Regions from separate parts of the Homo sapiens genome. Here all the other regions are linked to region 4. The links are contacts of gene promoters, found by promoter capture Hi-C in blood cells and fetal thymus (Javierre and others, 2016). All regions are on one chromosome and are shown on one strand. Each heading gives the region's core, a stretch centred on a gene start or on the middle of the fragment in contact. The rest is flanking DNA. Distances are from core to core; before and after follow the strand shown.

Evidence for each region. Contacts are between HindIII fragments. The CHiCAGO score rates a contact against its expected background, and 5 or more counts as called.
Region 1: a fragment that was not itself captured here is called in contact with the fragment with the promoter of CORO2B in region 4 in 3 of 17 cell types (neutrophils, M0 macrophages and naive B cells); the score reaches 5.4 in neutrophils.
Region 2: a fragment that was not itself captured here is called in contact with the fragment with the promoter of CORO2B in region 4 in 1 of 17 cell types (total B cells); the score reaches 5.0 in total B cells.
Region 3: the fragment with the promoter of FEM1B here is called in contact with the fragment with the promoter of CORO2B in region 4 in 1 of 17 cell types (endothelial precursors); the score reaches 5.6 in endothelial precursors.

What each region holds. Positions count from the first base shown.
Region 1 is chr15:68,897,881-68,901,144 of GRCh38, forward strand. No RefSeq gene overlaps it. Among named protein-coding and RNA genes, the nearest start is that of SPESP1, 31 kb to the right of the region's middle. The HindIII fragment of the contact is 1,775 bases long and covers 1,082-2,856 here.
Region 2 is chr15:68,880,643-68,883,707 of GRCh38, forward strand. No RefSeq gene overlaps it. Among named protein-coding and RNA genes, the nearest start is that of SPESP1, 48 kb to the right of the region's middle. The HindIII fragment of the contact is 1,080 bases long and covers 1,253-2,332 here.
Region 3 is chr15:68,276,325-68,279,368 of GRCh38, forward strand. It overlaps FEM1B (fem-1 homolog B), which reads left to right and starts at 1,421. Exons shown (of 2, transcript NM_015322.5): 1 at 1,421-2,341. The coding sequence starts at 2,094. RefSeq lists enhancers at 1,417-2,318, 2,061-2,260 and a silencer at 1,701-2,030. The HindIII fragment of the contact is 2,784 bases long and covers 234-3,017 here.
Region 4 is chr15:68,577,646-68,580,750 of GRCh38, forward strand. It overlaps CORO2B (coronin 2B), which reads left to right and starts at 1,348. Exons shown (of 12, transcript NM_006091.5): 1 at 1,348-1,632. The coding sequence starts at 1,618. RefSeq lists an enhancer at 1,536-2,403. The HindIII fragment of the contact is 45,013 bases long and covers 1-3,105 here.

The sequences.
Region 1 (3,264 bases), core at 719-3,218, 320 kb after region 4:
ACAGTCCCAGCTACTTCGAAGGCAGAGGCAGGAGGATTGCTTGAGCCCAGGAGTCGGAGGCTGCAGTGAGCTGAGATGGTGCTACTGCACTCCAGCCTGGGTGACAGGGTGAGACTTCATCTGTAAAAAAATGATAAAAGACTGGGAGAAGAGCCTGGCTGGGTTTTAAGCCTACCTGGGGACATGGCTGCATTGTTTCTGAGAAACACAAAGAGCCTGCTCAGCACCTGCCATCATCTCAACCAGAAAGCCCACTCCAGATGCTGTCTTGTCAGTGGCTCAGTCAGTGCACCTTTGATTTATGATGAATTCCCCAGTGTTTACAGACTGGTGAATGCAGAACAATTTCTCCCCATTAGAAGGAGTCATGGTGTGGCAAGTTCAGATTAGTTTCTCTTCTATGGAGTTTCATTCTTTCATGAAATGTGGTCTTGCTTCACACTGTGAGGGAGTTTGGTGCCTCTCTCGGCCTGGGTCACCTGCTAGTGTGTGTTTGGCACTAGAAAGAGGCTCTCAGGGAAAGGGTTCCTGACTGCATCCTTCCTTCCTTGCCCCTTCTCTCTCTCCATGCTCTCCAAGAAAATATTTACCACCCTTGAGGCCTCCTACTACCATTAGGAAAAAGATTGATAAAACGATGACTTTAAAATTAAGAAGTTCTGCTTATCTAAAGAGTTCATAAAGAGATTAATAACACAAACCACAGAATAGAAGTAGAAGCTATTTGGTAATACATATAACCAACAAAGGACTCTTATCCAGAAAATACATGTTTAAAAAAAAACACTAAAAATTATTAAGTAAGACATAACCCAACAAAAATTCCAGAAGTGGTGGGCAAGGCCAGAAACTCAGACAAATGATGTTGGTACCAAGACCAGGCTACACAGTGGCTGGACCAGCAGCTGGTAATCATGCAGACCCATGCTCAGCCTTTTCGCAGCGAGATGGAGCAAGTGCTGTGAGTGCTGGAGATGTTGGCATGCTGAGGATCTTACAGGCAGAGGATCCAAAGAGCTCGCTAGAACTGGTCGCAGAAGCCCCAGCCAGATTCTTAATGCCTTTAATTTTCCAGGGAAGAAGCTTCTCCATCACTGAACTGTTTCCATATTATAGATACTGTAATATCTATGGGTTTTCCTAATACTCATCTTTGTATTAGCTGGCGTTTTTACCCAACCAGGAAAGGAGTGGAGCCATGAAGCAGTGAGTGCCCAGAACTGGAAGAATTCTGAAGGAGATGGGACTGTGGACCATGTTCTCTCTCAGGCTAACATCTTAATAACAGCCTACTCTGTTCCAACCAGAAAGAATGAGAGAGGAAGGGAAGACGAACAGACAGAGACAGATGGACACATACTTATGAAGTGCCCACTGTGCTCAAGGAATTTGCTAGGGGCTTTCACATTTGTTGTTCACTTTGCTTCTTGTAACACTCCATTCTGTTGATGAGACGGGAGCCTCAGGAGAAATACATGGCTTGCTCAAGTTTAGTTTGTCAGTGATGTAGTTGGGATCTGATCTCAGGGTCTGTCTCATTTTTTTTTTGAGATGGAGTCCTGCTTTGTTGCCCCAGTTAGAGCGCAGTGGTGCAATCTCGGTTCACTGCAACCTCCGCCTCCCTGGTTCAAGTAATTCTCCTGCCTCAGCCTCCCAAGTAGCTGGGATTACAGGTGCCTGCTACACCACCTGGCTAATTTTTATATTTTTAGTAGAGACAGGGTTTCACCATGTTGGCAGGCTGGTCTCAAACTCCTGACCTCAAGTGACCCGCCCGCCTCAGCCTCCCAAAGTGCTGGGATTACAGGTGTGAGCCACTGCGCCTGGCCCTGTGACTCATTTTTCTAATTCCATGGCCTTGGAATCAGGTGTGTGTGAGCTTGGGTAATTATTTACCTCTGTGAGCTCAAGGCCCCTCTGTGAAATGATATCTGGCTAGTAGGAGCACCCTTGCAGGACTCTGCGCATGATGTACAGTAGTTGGTTTTACTGTAAATGTACTCAAATCCTTAGCACAGGATCAGGTACACTGAAGACAGTGAAGAGAAGGGAGTTAAACACTTTTGAAGTCATATTTTCTTTTCTCAGGTTCAACCACTCTGCTAGGAGAGAAAGGCAGAGAACAGGATAAGAAGATTGAGAGAGAGAGGTTGATTGTGAGGACGTAGTGTCTGGGACACATATATTTGGTCACAGAGTCATGACTTGAGGGGTGGCACGCTGAGAAGTTGCCTGTCTTACTCTCTGAGACTGAGCAGCTAAGATAGAAGGCTGAATATTGACTTGGGACAATACAGTCATGAGTTGCTTAACAAGAAGCCTATGTTCTGAGAAATATGGTGTTAGGCAATTTCATCACTGTGCAAACATCATAGAGTGTACGGTACTTACACAAACCTACACAGCATAGCCTACTACACACCTAGGCTGTATACTATAGCCTATCACTCCTAGGTTTGTAAACCTGTACAACATGTTACTGTACTGAATACTGCAGGCAGTTGTAACACAATGGTAAGTATTTGTGAATCTAAACATATCATTAAAAGGTACAGTAAAATATGGTATTTATAACATATTTTATAAAAATATGATGGTTTCTACCCTGGACTAGCTAAGAGATCTGAGGCTAGCAACTGTCCACAAACCTCCTCCCTCTTCCCCCAACCAAAGCCAAAAATATCTTACCCACCATTTCTTAAAACAAAACAGCCTGCAAAACCATTCAGCATTCTGCAGTAGAAAACACAAAACTCAGGTTGCCCCATTGAAGAAGGCCAGAAATCTTTGGAACATCACCCACTTAGGAGCATCCTGCCTCTGCTATTCACTGCCAGAAGTTATTTTACAAAGCCAAGCTTCTGTAGACCGTTCACAGCATGGGCTGGCCTTAATGGAGAGCTGGGCAAGGAAAATTCCCTCCTTCGAGCCTGGGCTGAGGAAAACCTCACCTGAGGAATGAGGGCCATTCTTGTTTATTATGATTGAATCACTATGCATATTACTTTCATATGTAATGCATTTGCCATTCTGAAGTATGCAGTGGGGATGGGGGTACTCCCACTTAGCCAAATCAAAACCCAGGTCCCAAGATTCTCAGTAGAAGAGATGGGCTCCCTTCACTCGGGAGGTCCCAGGGTGGCTGCAAGTACTCTCCTTGTACTATTAGGGTTGTTTTGGCACCTCCTCTTGGCAAACCCTAACAGAGACACTGTCTTTGTTTCTCAATCCCTGCTACAGACTGAAATTATCTGGGAAATTAAA
Region 2 (3,065 bases), core at 543-3,042, 300 kb after region 4:
CTGCGCTTCAGTTTTGTACTTAGGAATCTTGATCATATCACTAACCCACAGGACACAGCCCTGGCCCTCCACAAGGATGCTATTTTGCTAAGAAGGCCTGATGAGAAGGAGGGGGGCAGGTGCCCTGGCTGACTTTGTTAAGACACACACACGCTGAGGGTGGGAAATACGCAGTATTCCATGCTTTCACTTTCCGAGGTTTTAGTTACTCACGGTATAGTAAAATAAGATATTTTAGGGGTACAAAAAATAATTGGAACGAATAAGATCTAGTATTTGCTAGTATAACAGAGTGACTATAGTAAAAAATAATTGTACATTTTAAAATAACTAAAAGAGTGTAATTGGTTTGCAACACAAAAGATAAATGTTTGAGATGAAGGTAAATAATTGCATTTAACCTGATGCGATTATTATACATTGCATGTATTAAAATATCTCACGCACCCCGTAAATATATACTCCTACTGTGTACCCAAAAAATTAAAAATAAATTAAAAAATTTAAAAAAGGACTGCGCATGGTGGCTCATGCCTGTAATCCCAGCACTTTGGGAGGCCGAGGCGGGTGGAGCACCTGAGGTCAGGACTCAAGACCAGCCTGGTCGACATGGAGAAACCCTGTCTCTCCTAAAAATACAAAAATAAGCCGGGCATGGTGGCAGTTGCCTGTAATCCAAGCTACTTGGGAGGCTGAGGCAGGGAGAATTGCTTGAACCCAGGAGGCACAAGTTGCAGTGAGCCAAGATCATACCACTGTACTCCAGCCTGGGTGACAGAGTGAGGCTCCGTCTCAAAATAAATAAATAAATAAATAAAAATTAAAAAAAGATATTTTGGGAGAGAGATCACATTTATATGCCTTTTATTACAGAATATTGTTATAATTGTTTCATTTTACTATTAGTTACTGTTGTTAATCTCTTACTGTGCCTAAGTTATAAGTTAAACTTTATCATAGGTATGTGTGAATAGCAAAAACATAGAATATATGGGGTTTGGTACTATCCATGGTTTCAGGCATGTACTGGGGGTCTTGGAACACACCCCCTGTGGATAAGGGGGGACTACTGTACTCAGGTTAATTTTATTCAAGTGAGAAAAAATGGTTCAACTGTAAGTATATTCTCAGGGTGTTTTGATGACATCCATACAGAAGGATAAGTCTCCCTCATGAAACGTTAATGAAAAGGCTCATGGGACCCTACTTCTCCAACATCTGGTGTCTTTGGGGGAAGAACAGGGCCATAGAAAGCTTTGGGTGTAGACTCTAAAGACTGAGGTTGCAACCTCAGAATTTCAAAATAGTTTAGTATCAGACAACCTGACATTCCTATCCATGTTTTAGCCATCGTGTACCATAAAACGATTTGACCCTCTTCGACGTCCATCCATCATGTGCCAGCCAGCCACAGGGTGAGTTTTGTTGACCCTCACAAGTGCCACAATTCACTAAGGTGTACAGAAGCCATGTAGTGGAGTAGCGCTGAAGTTGGAGTCTCAAATTTGTACTCTCTTGGATGGTAAATATACATCTTCAGGCACATTTAAAAAACAACATGTTGTTATTTAGAAGTTGTTAAAAAATAACATCGAAGGCCATAGCATGGTGTGGGACCGTCCCCTTTCCAAAAGAATCCATTAAAACCCTATCAATTCATGTATCCATGTATCCCATTCAGCCCTTTTGAGCAGAGGCAGACAGCTTATTTTACGTAGTATAAAGATTAGGGAGGGTGATCTAGGAGCTAAAATATGGAGAGAGTCCTTCCTTAGACAGAGTGGTAGAATTTGGTATTGGGAAATTTCTGAACTGATAATCCAATCAAAATCAGATGCATTGGTGGGGTGCTGTGGCTCACGCCTATAATCCCAGCACGTTGGGAGGCCGAGGCGGGTGGATCACGAGGTCAGGAGTTCAAGACCAGCCTGGCCAACATGGTGAAACCCCGTCTCTACCAAAAATACAAAAAAAAAAATTAGCTGAGCATGGTGGCACATGCCTGTGATCCCAGCTACTCGGGAGGCCGAGGCAGGAGAATTGCTTGAACCAGGACCCAGGAGGCTGAGGTTGCAGTGAGCCGAGATCGTGCCACTGCACTCCAGCCTGGGCTACAGAGGGAGACTCAGCCTCAAAAACAAAAACAAACAAACAAACAAAAAAAACAAAAAAACAAATGCATTATAGTTCTGTTTTCAGAGGCAGCCCAGCTTCACCCATTTTGACGATGCATTTTTCTATGTGGTATAGAAAATTAAAGAAGGCTTCTCTGGATGCCGTTCTAATTGTACCAAGTTTGAATCAATCACTTTGTAAGTTGAAGTATTCAAAAAGCTTATATAACCAACTACATGCTCACCATTTAAACATTTTTTTACAACATATATTAGAAAATACCCTCCCTCCAATATTTTACAAATAGAACTTATGTTTGCAGTTTCTTTCTAAGGTAATTGTAAAATCTGACTTTGATTATTTCACATATTAAAAATGATATAAAGGCTTATATCATAGATTTAAAGGCTGAGTGGTTTACTCTGTGTTACTCAGCTCAGCACTGCTAAGGCTGCCACTGTCAGGTACGTTGTGCCACCTGATGTGAGGCCGAATGAAGCACATGGCACTGCACTTGCAGTATCCTTCCCTAAAAGAGAAAAACAGTAAATCTAATCAACCAGGAGAATCAAACATCATGGTGAACAGCATCACAGAAATACAGTCAGCCTCATGGTACCCGTATGTCAAAAGATATCACCACTTTTCAGATTACTGGTATACATGACTGAACTGGTTCCAGAAAGTTAAAAATGTATGTACTCACCATAGTGAGCAGAAATTCATCTTACTGCAGAATTGCTTATTAAAATCAATTTTAAGTAATGTGCACTATTTGAATTTGGCAAAATGATATTTGTATTGCATGAATTTGCAAACAATTGAGGTTAAATGTATTTTTTTGCCTATTAGTTATTTTTGTTTTTTTCTTTTTCTTTTTTTTTTTTTTGAGATGGAGTCTCTCACTCTGTCAGCCAGGTTGGAGTGCAGTGGTGGATCTCAGCTCACTG
Region 3 (3,044 bases), core at 171-2,670, 300 kb before region 4:
GAAGTGACCCACACCTCCACCAATAGCTGCAATGGAAGTGAGGCCTTTACCTCCTAGAATTGGAATGGTGGGGTTCAAATAAAATAATGTATGTGAACTTGTTGAGCCGAGCCCAGTCCCTTGGAGCCACATAAATGCATTTGTTCTTTCTCTATGGTAAATTTTGTCCTTTGGGGAAGGGAGGAAGAGGGAGGAAGTCACTTTCATATTGAGTTTTTTGAGACTGTCCCAGAAGCTTCATCACCTACCATTCACTCCTACCATCCTAATCCAAGGCCTGTCCCCCTATCTACTCTTGCCTTCCAGAGTTTATTCTCCATACAGCAGCCAGAGTGATCTTTTTAAAAAACACAAATAGCATCTTGTCACTTCCCTCTTTAAAACCCTTCAAATGCCCCCATCACAGAGTAGACTTAAACCCTTTGCTATGGGTTATTAGGCCCTAACGTGTGTTGCATCCTCTGACTTCATCTATCATTCTTACTGTGGCCCACTCTGCTGCAGCCACACTGACCTTTCTGTTTCCGAGCTCACCAGACTGTTCCCTCCTCAGGACTTTTATATTAGCTGTCCCCTTTGCCTAGAATACCGTCTGTTCTTGTCACTTGTCATAGAGGTCTTGTCTGATCACCCAAACTAAATGAGTGCCCCCATCATTCTATTTCATTTGCTTCAGAGCAAATGGTAATGATACCAGTTCAACTGATCTTGTCTATCATTTGTTGACTTATTTGTTCCATTACTGAATCCCTAGTGCTAAGCAGAGCCTGGCACGTAGTCGACCTCTAATATTCATTGGATAAACGATCGTTTCAAATCCTAACAACAATCTTGTGATGTCTGTGAGAAAACGGAGGTTCTGCCGGCTCAGGATGAGATTCCTGCTCTGTCTGAACGCGGGACTCGCTTTCCTTCCCAGGATACCTCGCTCCTTCCACCGCGAGCGCAGCTCCCCTTCGCTCCCATCTTTCTCTCACACTTAACCCCTTTCTCCGGGAAAGTCAGGCCGTACTTCCAGTCCCTTCTCAGAGCCTGGTGTTGTGGCTCTCAAGCCCTCCCACATTTCGGGAACTCAGAAACGCCGCCCTTTTCCTGAAATGGACCCTCCGAGTACGCGCAACCCCTTCCCTAACCCCGGCTCAGGGGCAGAAGCAGGACCCGCACCGTCTATAGTAAAATAGGGTGGTCTCCTTAGCCCATCAGCTTAGCGCCCTCACTCCGCCCCCACTCCCTGGCTGGAGACCCTCAGGGCCGTTTAGGGGCCAGGAGGAGGTTCCAGGAGTCAAGGACATTGAGGACATCCAGGCCCAAACGGGATGGGCCAACTACGCGCAGCAGAACCTTTCTCTACCGGGCCCGCGTGTGCCCGCCGGTCGGCTTAGGCGGAGACACCCCACTTAGCGTCCCTCCCGCTCCCGCCCTCTCCTCCCGGCCCTGTCTGCGAAAGCTCGTCTTCCTCCCCGCCCAAGTTCCGGCGCCGCTCTTGCGGGAGCGTTCCGCATCGCCCCGGGGGCCCCTACGCGAGGATCTCCGGGGCCGTTGGCAGCGCCTGGCACTTCTGAGCTCGGCGGACGAGAGCCTGCAGGTTTCCTCCAGTCAGGGACGGCGAAGGGCGGAAAGCGCAGGAGGAGGCAGTGTTAGGCCTTAGGCCGGGTGGGCCGGGTCAGGAGAGACGCGCCCATCTTTCGCCATCCGGGGTGCGCGAGGTCCTCTCGGGACCCGGCCGGCGACCCGTAGCTCGGGCACGCGCCTGTCGCATCCCGCAGGAAGGAGGGGTCCGGCCTGAGGCCCGGGGCGGCGTCCGCCATGGAGATCCCCTCGGTCCAGGGCCGGCGCCTGGGACCTGGCGGGCGGCCCTGACCGCCTTCCTCCCTGCGCGGGCTGGGTCGCGGACGTGCCCTTCGCGGCACTCGGCCTCCTCTGCGTCTCCGCCTTCCCTGGGCCGCACTGCTGCCTGGGCGCGGCGGCGGCGACGGCGCCCTGTTGAATGGGCTGTGAGGGCCCAGGTTTAAAGCGCTGGCGAACGCGGCCTCCGGGGGCGCACGGCAGCTGCAGCGGTGGCGACCAAACGGGTGTTGGAGTTGGCGGCGGCCATGGAGGGCCTGGCTGGCTATGTATACAAGGCGGCCAGCGAGGGCAAGGTGCTGACTCTGGCCGCCTTGCTTCTCAACCGGTCTGAAAGCGACATCCGCTATCTGCTTGGCTATGTCAGCCAGCAGGGAGGGCAGCGCTCCACGCCCCTCATCATCGCAGCCCGCAATGGACACGCAAAGGTGGTACGCTTGCTCTTAGAACATTACCGGGTGCAGACTCAGCAGACTGGCACCGTCCGCTTCGACGGGTAGGTACATCCCAAGCCAGCCTCTCTCCGACGCGCGCGGACTCGTTAATTCACGGGCCCTCCCCTCCCTCACCCTCTCTTACCCTCTCTTCATGTAGGTACTCACTTCTCCCCTTTTTGTACCACCTCCTGCCCCACTAATGCCCACTTCATCTTCCAGGGCTAATAATCCATCCCATGTTTTGCTGCCCGTCCTCATCAGCCCCTACCCCTCATTCCCTCTGTGGGAAGATAACCACACCCTCGGCCTTGAAATCTAATAGTCGTCTTCTCTACTAGATAGTCTGTGAACAAGCCATTTGGAGGAGGTGGCTGCCTTTCCAGGTTTTACTTTTAGTGGAACTGGTGATGTAACTGATCAGAAATTAAGGAGGTCAGCGGTTAACATTGAAGAACTCCGAAAGAGTTATTTGGGCATCCATTTTTACTCCCTTCAAGTGAGTGGTTCCGTAAAACCTTCAGTGGGCTGCTGGGCTTTAATGTCAAAATAAGCACCTAGAACCAGCAGCAGCTGCAGCATCATGAGGGATTGTCACGCAGCCAGACATCTCAAGACATGATTCTGATTCCTCCACGTTGCTCGGTGTAGATATATTGGCTACTAAGATGGCATTGGACCTGATGTGGGAGATGATGCCATTCTTAAATTACATCTTATCCCGTGATGTTGTGGGGAAGCTTGATCATTTACTGTTAGTTGAGG
Region 4 (3,105 bases), core at 98-2,597:
AGGAGGCGGAGGTTGCAGTGAGCCGAGATCGCGCCACTGCACTCCAGCCTGGGCGACAGAGTGAGACTACTCCGGTCTCAAAAAAAAAAAAAAAAAAAAAATTGCACAATGACCCACAAAGCACTTCCTGGAGGCTGGTTACTCTATTATTATTGCTCCAATCTAGACACTGGTCTCCCGGAAGGCAGGCATCCCATCTCCTCTCTGTTCCCCCAGCACTTTCCACAGAGCAGGTGCTCATATATGACGTTGCCTTCGCTGTCCAGGTGAATTGCACCGGTAATTACCGTGGAGCAGGAAGCCAGCACTTCCGGGCTTGCCAGGCTGTCCTGCTTGGAGAACCCCTCTGCTTCCACCTCTGCTAACTCCTCCCCTCCACCCTCTCCGCGGTTCTGTATCTGCGGAAACCGGTTCTGCTCAGGTGCTTGGGAGGGAGACTCCTTTCTCAAGACTTGCGAGGTCACCTTCAGGTGACTGTCCCTCAAATCTCCGCAGCAGCTCCAGGACACACTGTGCCCCGAGTCAGGATTGGATCAACACACAGGACGCACCTGTGTTATCACTCCACCAGTAGAGCGGCACTCAGTGGTAGTGTAGACAGTCCTAGGGCAGGGCAGCTTCTATAACAAGAGGTTCCTTAGGGAGCTAGCGGCCGAGTGGAAAGAGCGGGAGGAACGGCTCGGGCAGGCAGGTCCTGTGCTGTGGTCTAAGTCACTTCCCACGTCCGTCCCACTCTGATCGTCAGTTTCCTCCTCTGCAAAACTCACTAAGGCGGCCTTCGGGCAAGTCATCGCGGCGGGAATTAGATTCGAAAGAGTGCTTACACAAATCCGTCTGGCCACCCTGTGCCCCGGGCCAGCGCGAGGTGGGGGTGCGGGCAGGGCTCCCGGGCTTGCGGCTGCCACGCCCCTCCCAGCCCGCCGCGCCACACTCACGGCCCACGGGCCGACTTTGCGAGCCTCCAGGGGGCGAACCCGACCGCCTTCTTTGCCCGCGCAGCGCCTCGGCCGTCCAGCCTGTGACTTCACCAGCGTCCCCGGGCCAGCGGGACACCCGAGAGCCCGGGGCGCCGCCCGTTCTCCCAGCCGGCAGGTGCCGGGAGCCAGCCTCGCCCAGCCGCGTGGCGTCCGCAGGCCCGAAGGGGTTAAGGCCGCGGACCCGGGCGCCCGTCCGGACTCCGGGAGCAGCGGTGCCCGGCGGCCGGCGATCGAGCGGGAGGCTCGGGGCACGGCCGCTGGCGGGCTGCGCTTCCTCCTCCTCCTCCCTCCGCCTCCTCCTTTGTAGCGAGTTCCCGGCCCCTCTTCCTCCCCCCGCCCCCCAGCCCGGGCCCTCTCCCTCTCTCCCTTTCTTCCTGCCTCGCCTTCCTGCGGCGAAGGAGGCTCATCTATTATAAATGCACATTCGGGGCTGACATCAGCGACGAGCGGCGGGCGAGCGCCGACGAGCGGTCCCTGCGCGCTGCCCGCCCGGAGCGCAGCCCCCAGGCTCGGCCGAGCCGCCGGCGGGGCGCGGGGAGCGAGCCGGGAGCTGCCGGACCCCCTTCCGCCGCCGCCCCGGGCCGCCGCCGCCGCCCCCGCACGCCGCGCCCGCGCCCCCGCTCCGCCGCGGAGTTTCTGCATGACTGTCACAAAGGTAAGCGCCGCTCGCCCGCCGCGCCCGGGACCCGCCGGCGCCTGCATCCCCCGGGCTAGGCTGCGGGGGGCGCGGGGGTGTGGGTGTGGGGAGGGGGCGCCGGTGCCGGGAAGGTGCGGCGCGCGCCTCTCTTGCTGCCGGATCCGCTCGAGTCACTCCGGCCCCCAAGGACTGCGGAGGCCAGGGGGAGGATGCCGCTCTGGCAGCCCCGGCGGTTTGGCCAACATCCCTCCGCGCCCGGCCCAACCCCGGGACTGCATTTTTAACCCTTGTTTGGGATGCTGCATTTTTAACCCCTGGAGAGCTGGGCTGGGCGGCTAGCGGTGTCCCTCCAGGGAGTGCGCGGCGGGAAGCGTCGCTGGCAGGGGCTGGTGCTGAGCAGTGGGTGTGGGGATGGGCCTGCCGCCCCGAGGAGGCCAGCGGAGGGGAAACCCCACCCCACCTGCCAGCCTCTGCCGCCCATGCCGGGAGCGCTGGCTCCACTCCAAAGCCACTCTGTGCAGAAGGCGCTGCCCAGTCCCGGGAGCCGCTACCAGAGACAGGGCAGGTCCAGGTGGTTGGCTTGAAGATGTGGGGAGGGAATGTGACAGGGGAAGCAAAGGTGGGCATCTTGGCAGCCCCCATATTGGAGGATGATTGTTGGGCCTTGTCATAGGGGCCCACGTTTATTGGAGAGACTTCAGGGGCTTCCTAGTTGTAGGGAGGAAAGAGTTAAGAGGAAAGATGATGGGGCAGTGGAAAGTGCCAGGGTCAAGGGACCAGGGAGACCTGAGTTCAATCCCAGCTCTATCCCAGATCCCCTGGATGACCTTGGTCGGGGAGGGGTCCACTTTGGGCCTCAGTTTCTTCTTGTGTGCTGTGAGGGTGATAATATGGGTCCTGGGTTGTGACAGGCTGTTAAAGAACCAATAACATCAAGGGTGTGAACCCACACTCTTCAGAGAGATCTGTCTGGGTACTGAGCTCACAGTCTGGCGGTGGCCTCGGGCTTGGCCGTCCATTCAAGGGCCAGACTCCACCCTTTCCAGCTGCCCAGCTGGGTCCCAGAATTGGGGAGCTGGAGGCCAAAGTGGGACCGGCAGCCCAGAGTGGGGTCAGATGGAGGGTCAGAGCAGTGGGGCCAGATGGAGGGTTGGGGTGCAAGTGATGGAGGTGGGGTGGTTTTGGCTCCTTCTGGTAAGCCAGGGCCTACCCTTGCCCTCCTGAGGTCTGCCCCAAGACTGAATGTTTGTGCGGATTCTTGGGCCCAACTCCAAACTTTGCCATTGGCCCTGGTTCTGGGACTTGGGAGCATTGTGAGAAGATGAACTTGAGGGTGCAGGGGCTTCCTCAGCTCTGGCTACTTCTGGCAGGGCTGTTGTGGCCCACCTGGGGTAAGATGCTTAGGGTTTTGAAATGATGCAAATGCTATTCAGCTGGGAGGGATATTAAGGTTATTAATGTCAAAGATGCAAGCAGGCTGGGACAGAGGAG